Linked DNA regions of Homo sapiens: region 1 is linked to region 2. The links are contacts of gene promoters, found by promoter capture Hi-C in blood cells and fetal thymus (Javierre and others, 2016). All regions are on one chromosome and are shown on one strand. Each heading gives the region's core, a stretch centred on a gene start or on the middle of the fragment in contact. The rest is flanking DNA. Distances are from core to core; before and after follow the strand shown.

Evidence for each region. The method cuts DNA at HindIII sites, captures the fragments that hold promoters and counts their contacts. A CHiCAGO score of 5 or more calls a contact.
Region 1: a contact is called between a fragment that was not itself captured here and the fragment with the promoter of FAM241B in region 2, in 4 of 17 cell types (naive CD4 T cells, non-activated CD4 T cells, naive CD8 T cells and 1 more). The highest score is 7.3, in naive CD4 T cells.

The regions. Positions count from the first base shown.
Region 1 is chr10:69,497,054-69,503,251 of GRCh38, reverse strand. It overlaps TSPAN15 (tetraspanin 15), which reads right to left. Exons shown (of 8, transcript NM_012339.5): 5 at 4,856-4,972. Among named protein-coding and RNA genes, the nearest start is that of TSPAN15, 49 kb to the right of the region's middle. The HindIII fragment of the contact is 1,941 bases long and covers 3,887-5,827 here.
Region 2 is chr10:69,625,914-69,632,569 of GRCh38, reverse strand. It overlaps FAM241B (family with sequence similarity 241 member B), which reads right to left and starts at 2,323. Exons shown (of 4, transcript NM_145306.3): 1 at 2,257-2,323; 2 at 1,023-1,090; 3 at 731-861. The coding sequence starts at 826. RefSeq lists an enhancer at 895-1,780. The HindIII fragment of the contact is 17,043 bases long and covers 1,006-6,656 here.

The DNA.
Region 1 (6,198 bases), core at 3,608-6,107, 130 kb after region 2:
ATTCTAAATGTCAGGGCTTGATGTGCAGGCAAGACGACCTCCCTCGGTTTAGCTGGTTCTCCAGGTAGCCTCAGTCCCAGCCATGCCCAGTGCCCACTGGGCATTAGTCAGCCAGTGTTTTTGGCCCTTCCAGGCCATAAACACAACCCCTATGGAGAGGGTCAGGCCTGGAGAGCAGGTGCACGGGCACATGATGGGAGTGAGTGCTTTCCATCTCATTGGTTCATTCATTTGTTCATTGAACAAATATTAACTGAGCACCTATTGCATGTCAATCCCAGTTCTAGTCACTTGAAATACAGAACAACAAGACAAAGTCCCTGCCTTCATGGAACTTACACTGTAGAAAGGGAGATAATGAACATAACAAATAGGTAAGCTGCATGGTACGTAGGGAGGTGACAAGAGTGACTTCACTGGGCCAGCTCTGGTGACCTCGGGGGATGAGTCTCTTAGCACACAGGCAACTGGCAGAGGCCTCTCTGGCATCAGAGCCCAGAACCCTTCTCCAGGCCCAGGGGGGACTCACCTCACCCTGCCAGGAGAGCCCCTCACCAAGGGGTGAGGGGATACGATGCATCCATAGTCTTTCCAAAAGTAAAGCCTGCCTGGGTTTACCTGCCTGACCATAGAATCGATATTCTGCAAGAGGCTCTGCTGAAGTTCACAGGCCCCAAGACCAGGGTCCAGTAGCCTCTTCCATCCTGCACGGGGCCACAGGACAGGAAGTCAGAAGGGGGACTCCTGGGCAGCCAGAAGATCACAGCAATGTTTGTGTGTGCATCCTCTCACCCTGAAAAGACTGAGCAGCTAATGGGGACAGGGAGAGGGGCCTTCGCGACAGGCCCCCAAGGGGTAGCCAACAACAAGGGAGGGGAGGTACGTGAAAATTGGTCCCAAGAGCTCAGCAGGCACAGCAGTCTGGAGCCATTTAATGTAGAAGCACGCTGCCCTCTGCACCAACATCTCCGAGGGATATATCCTGGTATAACCAGATTTTACAGCCCTATGTGAACTTCTATGGCTCAAATCCTCTATTGGAAGCTCATATAAGACATTTCTTTTAAAGCTGAGTGTTAGGGAAAAGGTTACTTTCCCTGAAGAACTGGTATGTTCTGCTGGTATGTTCTGCTGAACAGTAACAATGTAACAGACCATGTCTCCCTTTTCCTTTTGGTTGCCAGGAAACTCTAAGCCAGTGGTCTCCAACCTTTCTGGCACCAGAGACTGGTTTCAAGGAAAATAATTTTTCCACAGGATGGGGTGCGGGGGGGTGGGGGGTGATGGTGTCGGGATGAAACCATTCCACCTCAGATCATCAGGCATTAGTTTGATTCTCATAAGGAGCATGCACCCTAGGTCCCTTGCATGCACAGTTTACAATAGGGTTCACACTCCTATGCGACTCTAATGCTGCTGCTGATGTGACAGGAGGTGTAGCTCAGGTGGCAATGCTCCCTCAACCTCTGCCCACCTCCTGTTGTGCGACCTGGTTCCTAACAAGCCACTGACCGGTACTGGTTCATGGCCTGGAGGTAGGGGAGCCCTGCTCCAAGCCACCAGACACGAGGCTCAGCTCCTTTTCAGTGAGTCCATGAGGTCCTGAGGCTTAGATAGCAGGATTTTATATTTTTCTCCATCATCTAGGCCTCCTATCTGAGAATACAATTCCCACAGTCCTGATTTTTAATGCTATTTTAGTTTTTTACACTACATATTTCCCGTGTACTCATTCAAATCCCAGGTTGAATAGTACAGTGTAAAATAAATAGATCTGGACACAAATCAACCAGTTCTATGGAGGAAGCGAACGCCCTGTTTCACATTTAGAGAAAATCATCCAGGTGTGGTGGCACAGGGAGACTCAATGGTCATGTGTAACACAGGGTCAGATAACCCCGGCCAGGGGAAGGCTCCTCCCTACCTCAGTGCTCTCATTCAGATGCTGTCTTTAGATTCTACCCTATCTGCAGATGATGTCCGTGTTTACACCCCTTGCCTAGTCGTTCCCAGAACTCCAGACTCCTATATCCAACCGCATCTTTGACACCCCTGATGGGATGCTGAACAGGCTCTCAAACCCCCCACGTCCACGGTGAGCTCCTGGTCACCCAGCCTGCCTCCTTGCAGTCCTCCCCTCTCAGGCAGTGGCAGCCCCGTCTTTCCTGTGGCTCAGACCAAAACCTGGGTATCCTCCTTGATTTCTCTCTTTCATTCATCGCCCACATCTGCTATGCGAGCAAATCCTGTAGGCTTACTTGCAAAATACAGCCAGAATGTCACCACGGTTTGCCACTTCCACCACCACCACCACCACCCAGCTCCAAGCATCTGTCTTCCCCTCCCTGGTGCAGGGATGCTGTGGGGAGCCCTTAGGTGTCAGCCCCCTGCAATAACTACTTCATGTGATCATTAATTTTATATGTCAACATGACCAGGCCATGGGATACCCAGATATTTGGCCAGACATTATCCTGGGTGTCTCTGTGGGGGTGTTTCTGCATGAGGCTAATGTTTAAATCAGCAGACTAAGTAAAGCAGATGGCCCTGCCCAAGGGGGAGAGGTCTCATCTGATCAGGGAAGGCCTGAACAGAACAAAAGACTGCCCTCTCCTCAGTGACCATAAGAGAATTCTCCCTGCTTGGCTACCTTCGGGCTTGAACTGAAATGCTGGCTCTTCCTAGGTTTGAAGCCTGACCAGCCTTTGAATGGGAACTCCACCCTCAGCTCTCCTGGGTCTCCAGCCTGCCGACTCACCCTGCAGATCTTGGGACTTGCCCGCCTCCATAATTACACAAGCCAATTCCTTATCATCAATCAATCCCTCTCTTTCCTCTTGCTGTATTAGTCTGTTCTTGGCTGAACAGAGCCAGCAAGTCCCTTCTTGGGTGGACCACTGGACTCATGCAATGCCTGGTCAATGTGGGTGGGAGTGTGAAGGCCTGGCCCCCTCACCCCAGTAGGGGACAACTCTGAAGGGCTGTCCTCATAGATGTGGCTGAGGCCTCCAGCCGAACTGAGCTGAGGCTGCATCACTGCTCAACTCCCTTCATTGCCCAATCCCGCTTCTGGCTCCCACTTCCACAGGTGTTGATCCAAGAGCACCTTCCTGGACAAGATGACCTATGACCCCTGGATCACTGCATATCAGCCCCTAACTCTATCCCTGCATCTAGCATGTCCCTCACAACAGCCAGACTGATTCTTGTAAAACCAAGTCAGAGTGCCCCTCTTCCATGCAGCCCTGTATGGTCCATCACTCAAGGGTGCCCCACAGTCCTGCCTGTGGCCTTCGGGGTACCCATGACCTCCCTGACTCCACCTCCTACCATCCTCCGCTGTGCTCCCTCTGCTCCAGCCACTCTGTGCATTTCTCAAACGCCCTGGGGTGATTCCCACCTGGGGCCTTTGCACAGCTGTTCTTGCTGCCAGGAATGCCCCTCCCCCAGACACCTTCCTCACTTTCTTCAGAGCTTCACCCAGATCCCGCCTTTCTCAGTATCCCAAACTGCAATCCTCCATGCCCTACTTTCTTTTTCTACTCAGCATTTATGATCCTCTATCTTTTACTTATTTTGTTTGTCAGTTTTCTCCACTAGGATGTCACCTCCTTGCGGGCAGAGACTTTGTTTGCTACACCCCCAGAACCTGGAAATGTGTCTGGCATAGAGTAGGTTCTCAGCCAATATTTGTTGAATGAATGAATGAATGAATGAATACAAGTTTGGCTTCCACATCTCAGCTTAGGTATTCAGATGCTGCTGCCCTGGGTGATGAGGTTCAGGATCACCCCACGCAGGCCTCTCTGGAAACTCTGCTACTCCTCAGCACCCCACTTCCCAGAGAACTACCCTAAAATGGCAGCTAACACTTCCAAACAAAGCTTCCCTCCTGGCCCGGCCTTTTTTAGAGCTAGTGCACTTGGCACTGGCTCTCTGACTCATGGGCGAGGCCCCCACCCGCAGCTGCTCAGTTTACAGAATCCAGCAGTGGGCACAGAATGGTGGCAATGTCAGGAGAAAAACTTTCCATGACTATCTGGGCCATGAGTAATTGCAAAGCTCTCCACCTCGTTCCAATCCTGAAACAGTTTCTGGACACATTTGTCAAACACAAGGACTGATGAAGCCTTTCACTTAAGCGCTGACAACACAAGACATCATCCCAAATGACCAAGGTGACAGACCCGAGAGGATCGTGCTGGGGAGAGGAAGAGGATGGCATTTACGTCACCAGACCCCCTTCCAAGCACTCTGCTGCTGATGATCACCAGGACCTCAAGGCCAAAGACCAATGGAGATGCCCAAGGTGCAGGTCCTGCCTGCCTCCACTAATGCTGCAGAGCCAGCTACCCCCGCTAAGCTCCCCTGGCCTGGGCACCTCTCCCTCCTGCCCTCACCTGGCCTGCACAGTTCTCCAGAGTGTAGCTCAGGCAACAGCTGCCTGCACTTCATCCCAGCCCTGCCAACCTTGGGCAAGACACCCAGCCTTTGAGTGCCTCAATTTCCTCATCTGTAAAGTGGGTAAAATAACAGTACATACCTCACAGGGTTGTCGTGAATACTAAATGAGTAAATACCACCAAAGTGCCCAGAGCAGGCCTGCACAAGGTAGGTGCTCAATAGATTTTAACCAACACCACTAAGAAAGACATGGTCTCCCTACCCCCGACCCCCAGAAGCTCCACTTTCAGGAGCCCTTGAGAATCAGGAAAGCCTCCGCTCTGCCACCAACTCCTACTTCCCTGCCATCCACCCACACCACCCATCTTCAAGTTGGGAAGAGAGAAAAGAGAACATTTATACCACCTGGGGTCCCCGACAGCCCCCCAGTCCCCACAGGAGCAGTGTCTACCGTGTTCCTGATGCAGCAGGTGTAGGGCACCCCACAGGCCAGGGGTCCAGGGGCACTGCAGTCGTGGTACTGATTCTTGCTCCAATCTCGGTAGTCCTCCCCGCCACAGCACTTGAACTGAGGGAAGCAAGCAGGAAAGAGGAGCTGCCGTCATCGCCCAGGCCCTGCTCAGACGACAGGAAGGGGCCCTGTCAGGAGACGGAGGCAGTTTATTATGTGGGTCACCCTGGGGCAGGGAGAGGCTGTACACTTTCAAGTCAGAGCTGTCAAAGTGTGGCATGGCTGCCTAGAGGGTAGTGAACCCCCTGTCACTAGAGAGGTATGGAAGCCAAGGCTGGGCTGCCTCTTGGTGGGATATCAGGGTAGTGACTAGGCACTGGGAGGAAAGGTCCTTCCTTGACAACTGGCCTCCACTTTCTTCATCTTCGTGTCCCCAAATGCAGGTGCTAGGCTGGAAAAGATGGCCCTTAAAGTCCCAGAGACCAAGCATGATTCTGTGAAAGTCCCTGCACCTCAACCAACCTTCGCACCCACCCTAGGAGCCACCCCGTCCAGCTCAGCTGGCCCTGCCCTTAGCAAGGAGAGCACCCACACCTCACAACCTGCCTGGAGCTCTCCCCTTAGCCGAGCCCCTCCCTGCCTCCCCTCCCTGCTCCTGTAGGAAGTAGTTGGTAACCCTCCTGATGGCTGGTATGTGCCTGGCATTGTCCTGGGCACTGGAGAGACAGGGTGAGCAAAAGCAAGGCAGCCCTTGCTCAGGTGGAACACATTCCAGTGGAGAGACAGAGAGTGAGCACTGGATGGAAAGGTGCTGTGCAACCTGGAAATGGAGAAATAGGGGGAAAGTGGGGAGGGGCAGCTCTAGGTTGGCAGGTCATGAAAGGGCTCTTTGTAGAGAGGATATTTCATCTGAAACATGGAAACAGAAAGAAGCCAGACGACCCATGCAAAGGCCCCACGCAGAAACAAGCTTGTATTTCAGCAGCAGGTGCGGAGGCCAACAAGCCTGGAACAGAGAGAGTGCAGAGCATGAGGATGAAAGGGCGGCACAGGCTGGACCATGCAAAGCTTTGCCAGCCAGCTGAAGCAGGGAGCTGGGACTGGAGGGCTCAACCAGGGCTGCAGTACACGTCCTGGTAGCCAGACACCTTTCAGAGTCCCCACAGTGCCCCTTAAGCCACCAGGTTTTGGGACCTAGAACTGTCTTTCTGCAATGTAGTTCAAAGGGCATTTGTCTTGCAATGGAACAGACCCAAGGTCAAATCCTCAGACCACCACTCCCTGCTGTGCAACCTCAGGCAAGTTGGTCAGCCTCTCTGAGCCTCAGATGGTTGTCTGTAAAG
Region 2 (6,656 bases), core at 1,074-3,573:
ACAGAGGAGAGAGGAAGTGGTTGAGGCAGGTTGGACTACAGGGCATGGCTCTAGGGCCAGCATTTTTAATACTCATCATCACTCCTTTCTTTTTTTTTTTTTTTTTTTTTTTGAGACGGAGTCTCGCTCTGTCACCCAGGCTGGAGTGCAATGGCGCGATCTCAGCTCACTGCAACCTCCGCCTCCCAGGTTCAAGCGATTCTCCTGCCTCAGCCTCCTGAGTAGCTGGGATTACAGGCATGCACCACCACACCTGGCTAATTTTGTATTTTTAGTAGAGATGGGGTTTCATCATGTTGGTCAGGCTGGTCTCAAACTCCTGGCCTCCTGATCCGCCCACCTCAGCCTCCCAAAGTGCTGGGATTACAGGTGTGAGCCACCGCGCCCAGCCACCCCTTTAAAATGATTATTCTGTGCCCAGGGCTCATCTCCTCCACTTCCTCTCCAGCTTCTGTCATCCAACCCACTCTTAAAAGAAAGACGCTAGCTCCAGTGAGGTTTGCTAACCAAGTTAAAGGAGAGAGAGCTCTTGGCTGTGAAGTCTGGGGAGGCGCCTGGAGAAAGGAGATCTGGGGAGGTAGACAATAAGCCACTGCATCTTCCCCAGCTCTCTGCAAAGAGGGCTTCAGGCTAGAAAAGGTTAGTGACCAGCAAGAGAGACTTCTGGAAGCTAGGAGTAGCCAGTACACAGGAGGCCATCTGTCCCACTCCACAGGAAATGAGTACCTACCTGTCGAGGAATGCTACCTCTTGGTGGCTGGGTAGTGGTCCTCACTCGGGGGTCGTCATCCTGCACGATTTCCCCATTGGCCAAGATCCGCACCATCCTCCCAGGCGCTGTGGGTCCCTGATGGGCTGCACCTGCATTGTGTGGTCAGGGTGGGCAGGCTAATGGAAGCCAAGTGGCACAGAAGTTCTCCCCACCACAAAACCTTTAGCTGTTAGTGATCTGGGACCAGACTCGTGAAGATCTGTGGAGGATTTTCCCCCTGACCTCAAAAAGCTTGAAGGAAAAAATTTACCAGAAATTGAGGGAGGCTTGCAGTCAGTGATGTTCACAGAGGTGACCCACGCTGAGTAGATGCTGTGTCTGATTAACAAAAAGGGGAGAAATAAAGGCAAGTTGTTTGCCAGGCAAAAAGATTTCAGACATTGAGTCCACCAGGAAAACTATCAAAAAGATCCTTGGCAAAGGAAGTTTTACTGCCAATCACTACACTGCCAACAGCACAACTGGGACTAGAGCCTCTGCTGTGGCCCACGCCCCGTGGAAGGCCCATCCTGCAAGGCTCACCTCACTCAAGCCTCACAACACTCCCCCGAGGAGGGTACTAGCGCGGCCATTGCACAGGCGGAGGCACAGGGAGACTTAAGTGGCCTGCCCGGGATCACACCTACGGACAGCAGAGAAGGAACACGAGGCCAGAAGCTCTGGTTCTAGGGCCCTCCCTGGGTACTAAACTGGGAGTCCAGGGCACCAGCATCCCCAGTGGGGTTCCAATTCCCTTCCACTAAAAAATGGGTCGAGTGTGTTGCTCCCCCAGGGAGTCAATGTCACCACCTGGGCCTTCCCCAGGAACACCCAGGGAGATGAGGGTCACTTCGGGGTTACTTTACAACCACTGCCTGGTAGCGGCAGACCATCCTAGCCATCATGCGCCTCGGAAGAGCACACCTTTGCTGCAGAGGGCACGCCCCTCACCTGTCCCTCACTTCGCAGGGAACACCAGTCCAACCTTGGCTAACGGGCGCAGGGCCCAGCCTTCCCAAAATATGGGAGGGGGTTGCTGCGGTGGCCCTCGAAAGGCTCCACTCCGCGGACCCCTGGACTGCGGGGCCCCTCCACGCCTCCCCTTGAGTCTGGGTAAAGGCCATTCATTCTCAGGAGATGAGCCTCAGTGTCCACCTACATTCCAGATAGCACTGGTGACATGTATGCCGAAAAAGGTCAGGAGCCCTGTGGTCTTGCCCGTAGCCTGGAGCCCGGGACAGGCGCGTCCCCCTCCTGAAGCCCGCTGGCCCTGGCGCAGGCCGAGCGGATGGTGGTCGCGCGCAGTCCCTTTGTGCTTTGTCATCGCGCCCCCGCCCGGTGGGCCACCCGCGCGCCCGGCCCGCGGCGCACCTGACATTCCGGGCCGGGGGCGGGAGGGACGCTGCCCCGGCCGCCAGCCCCAGCCTCTGGAGCCCGACACCGGCTCCAAGTCCCGGCCCGGGCTGCAGCGAGGGATGCGCTCCCTCCCCGGCGCGGCGACTCACCTGCAGGCGCGACTCCGGGCCTCGGCGGCGTCCACTCCCGGCGGCTCCAGGCGGTTTCCTCCCACCTGACCTCACAGGAAGCGCGCGCCGGAGGGGCGCGGCCCAGTGGCGGCGCACATCGCCCTCTGTAGGCCGCCTGAGGAATTGCACCTGCCCGGCCCAGGGTTGGGGGCGGCGCGGGGTGCTGGGGGTCGGGGAGATGGGGCGTGGGAAGGAGTGGGAGGTGGGGATGGAGAGAAAAGAGGATGGGAGGAGAAGACACGTGGAAAAGAAGGAGAAGAAGGAGGAGGGAGAAAAGAAGGAAAAGGAAGCGGCGTCCACGGAGGAAAAACCCAGGGGGTGGGGGCGCCCTGGCCTGGGAGGAAGGGCGGGCGCAGGCTCAGATGACCAGTGTTATGTTTGCTGACCCAGCTCCGTGGATGCCCCTTGAGTAGGACCCAACCCTGCCCTCTAGGAGTTCCAAGTTCAGTGGGGAAGATGAGGCAGGAACGGGGCAGAACCCTCTGTAGGCTTCCAGGAGAAGATGCGTTTGAGCTGGGGCAGGAGGGTAGGTAAGGATAGAGAAGGTCACTCTTGGCAGAAGGAACCACCTGCAGGGAGTGAATGATCCACCTCTGCCTCCTTCCTGATGTTTTAAAATCCACTTCTCCCCCACCACCTTCATAAGCTGCTCCCTGTGGACCTGCTCACCAGTGGGGGAGAATGAGCTGTGCAGTCCCACAGTCTGGGTTCAGGTTCTGGACTCTAGCAAGTTACTTAGCTGCTCAGTGTCACAAAGCAGGTGTAATCATAGCCTTACAGGACTTCTGTGAAGATTAAGTATGATGTCTCTGGCACATTGGCAATGTTGATAAACGTTAGCTATGATTATCATTTAATAAATGTTTGTGGGAGTGGCAGATATTTGTTGAGCATTTATTAGAACCCAGATTCTGCTAGCTGCTGGGCAGAAGGAACAAAACTAAGAGAGAGATTTAGACCTGGCCTGGAGGACTCATAGTCGGCCACCATAGTCTGATTATTTGATCATGAAACCTTATCAGCAAAAAATGTTTCACGGGTCGCTCTGGTATCTGTATCTTATTTATATGTTACTATTTTTGTTTGTTTCTAAATTACACATGTGTACTGTGAGAACAGATTGGCATGATGGATAAAAGGTGGCTGCTGGAGCCATCCTGTGTTTGAATGTTGGTGTGACTGCTTTCTGGCACTTTCGTGTCAAGTGCTTGGATGAGAGCCTGGCTGCAGTACATGCTCAACGGCTGCTGACTGTTATGATCATTACCTCTTCTACTATCAAGTCGATTGTAAAGCATGCACATTTTAAAAGCATAGGATGTAAAGTAAATATAAACCAAAATCCTAGTGCTTTCTCCCCACACCCCAGTGTGTTCCAGGTATGCCAAGTGCACGCATGAAAGCAGTAATCACAAGGCAGGATGCCCGATTGTCAGAGGTGGCCTGTGATCCCAAATCGCAATGTGCACATTGGAATTACCTGGAATGTTTAGAAACCATCCCAATACCTAGGTTCCACCCCAGAGATCACAATGTCGTTGATCTGGGTTACAATCTGTGCATGGAGACATTTTAAAAACCAGTCTTCTAATGAGCAGCTAGGGCCGAGAAACACTGCCTTCCATGAACAGAACCCCATAAGTAGGTCACGGAACTCAGGAGCCCCAAGAGGGAGGTAACCTCTGTGGGCTGGGAAACCAGGGGATACAGGCAGAAAATCATGGATGTTTTCAGGAAGATTTGAGCTGGTATAACTGCTGCCAGAGAGATACACTCCAGCTGGAGAGAACCGTAAGAGTCGAGAGGAAGAAGCAAGTCCCTACAGAAAAGTCAAGAACAGCTTTGGGGTGGGAAGTGATAGTGCTTGACTGGACTTAGAAATAGCCTATTATTACCAACTAAAATAGCCTAAGGAGGCAACATACCACTTTTGCTATCTCTCCACCTTCTTCAGGTGTCTCTCCTGCTCAAGAACCTGCAATGGTCCCTACTGTCTGCTCCAACAAGCCCCAACTCATTGGCAAGGCTTTGACAACCCTCCAACTCTAGCCCCAGCACACTGTCAGCAACTCCTTCCCTCAGCTCTGCCCACCTGGCCTCTTTGCTTTCCCTGAAGTAGATCACCCAAAGGCCTGCTTTGCTTGGGCCTGAATATCTGCTGGAAGGCCAGCTCCACCCAATCTAAATCCCTTCATCCACAAACGTGATTGTTTCATGTAATAATAATAATAACCCCTATATGTGCAGAGTCCTTACTTCCAAAGTGTTTTCCCAGAGACCACTTCATTCTTTTTTGGATTATGAAATAGAAAGAGTAGGTGTTATTATTCCTCTTTTACCAAGGTGAAATTGAGGCTCAGAGACAAGGTAGATGATGAGCCCAAGGTCAGTGACAGAGCCAGCGTTCAAATGAAGGCAGGTCCCCGGGCTCTGCATTCCAGGCTTTTGCATCCACCAAACAGACTCCCCTGAGTTCATCTCAGCTCTGCAGCCTCTTTACAATTGTGCCCCCACCTTCCCCAGTGCCATCAGCACAAGATTGGGCATTGGGTCATGCCTTAACCCCAACATGTGGTCAATAAAAATGTGCTTTTGGTTTTCTGTTCATAGCAGAGGTCATAATTTTTAAGTCAGGTGTCCTGGCCTGTTCTCTGACTCTGCAGGTGGGAACAACTGTTTCTGCCTCAAAAGAGAATGGCATGATGATAATGGTGATGTCATTTTAAATATATTAATCTATCTATCTCTTTCTCCTGCTATTTCCCCCTGTCTCTTTCCCCTACTCTGGCAGACACTATGCCTGTGTTTATTACTCAGAGAATGGTGTGGGAGAAAGGCAGCACTAGCTTGCCAGTGCCCACTGTTGGTGCCTCCTTAGGCCTGTGGCCATGGAAGACAGTATGACAGGGGCCTCTTCAGAGAAAACACTGGGAAAGGAGGAAATGATGGGAGCATAGGTGTTGTGTGCTGGATCTCAAAGGTGGGCATGAGGCTTGGGAAAGGGAATGGCCAGATAGTGAGTATGACAGGTAGGGCCTTATATGGCCTTGTGGAAATCCTTGGGTCCATTGTGTCTGAGGTGTGGTGGAAGGATTCTTGTGCTCCAGCAATGACAAGGGAGTAGTAAGTAGTAGTAGTAGTAGTAGTAGTAGTAGTAGTAGTAGTAGTAGTGGGAAAATTGCTGGACTTGAAAGGGTCAGGTAGACAGGTATGAAGGGTGGTTCAGTGATGGCCCTCATCCATGGACAGATGATGGGGGACCAGAGGATTGATGGAGGCCTCAGAAAACACCTTACATAGTCAGAAGACTGGAGTGGCCCCACAATATCTTGGTTATATGTAAGTATGTAAGTCCCCTAAGACATAAACCCACCTAGGTGTAATATATTAGCTTGAGTACAGGCTATGCTGCTGGAACAAAAAAAATATACAGTGACTCAATCAAGTAGATGGGCAGCTCTGCTTCACAAGGCCAGCCAAGGACATCCACTCTTCCTAGCTTATTGCTCCCCTACACCCTAGGATGCCACCCTTATTTGCGTCGTCAAAACTGCCTCACCAACTTCTTCGCCATATGCAGCTCATGGAAAGGTGAGACAGAAGAAATGAGGGCTAGTGATTTCTTTTAAAGAAAAGTATTGTAGGTGTAGCACATATTACTTCCCTCACATTCCATTGTGAAGAACGAGTCACATGGCTACAGGGCAGGCACTGATATCCCTGTGTCATTCCGGATATTGGTACTTGTGTCTTCTATCTTGTGTCTTTCACTTTTGCTAGAGGTTTATCAATCTTATTGACTGATCTTTTCAAAGAACCAGCGCTGCTTCACTGAGTCTTCTGTTTCTATTTTTCTGTTTTCAATTTCATTGATTTCTGCTCTTATCTTTATTATTTCCTTCCTTCTGTTTGCTTTGGGTTTATTTTGTTCTTCTGTTTCTAAGTTCTTGAGTCGGGAGTTTAGATTATTGATTTGAGATGTTTCAATGTAAACATTTAGTGCTATAAATTTCCCTGTTAGCACTTTTAGCTGTGCCCCACACATTTTGACGTGTATTTTCATTTTCATTTAGTTATATGTATTTTTAAATTTCTTTTGCTACTTCCCCTTTGGTCCATGGATTATGTTAAAGGATCATTTAGTCTACAAGTGTTGGAGATTTCCTGTTATCTTTCCATTATTGGTTCTAGTAATTACATTGTGGTCAGAGAACACACTCTGTATGAGTTCAATTCTTTTAAGTTTGTTGAGGTTTGTTCTAGGGCCCAGGATATGGTCTATCTTGATGAATGTTTCATAGAAGGTTGAAAAGAATATCCATTCTGCTGGTTTTGGATGGAATGTTCCATAAATCTTTCTTTTTCTTTACTTTTCTTTT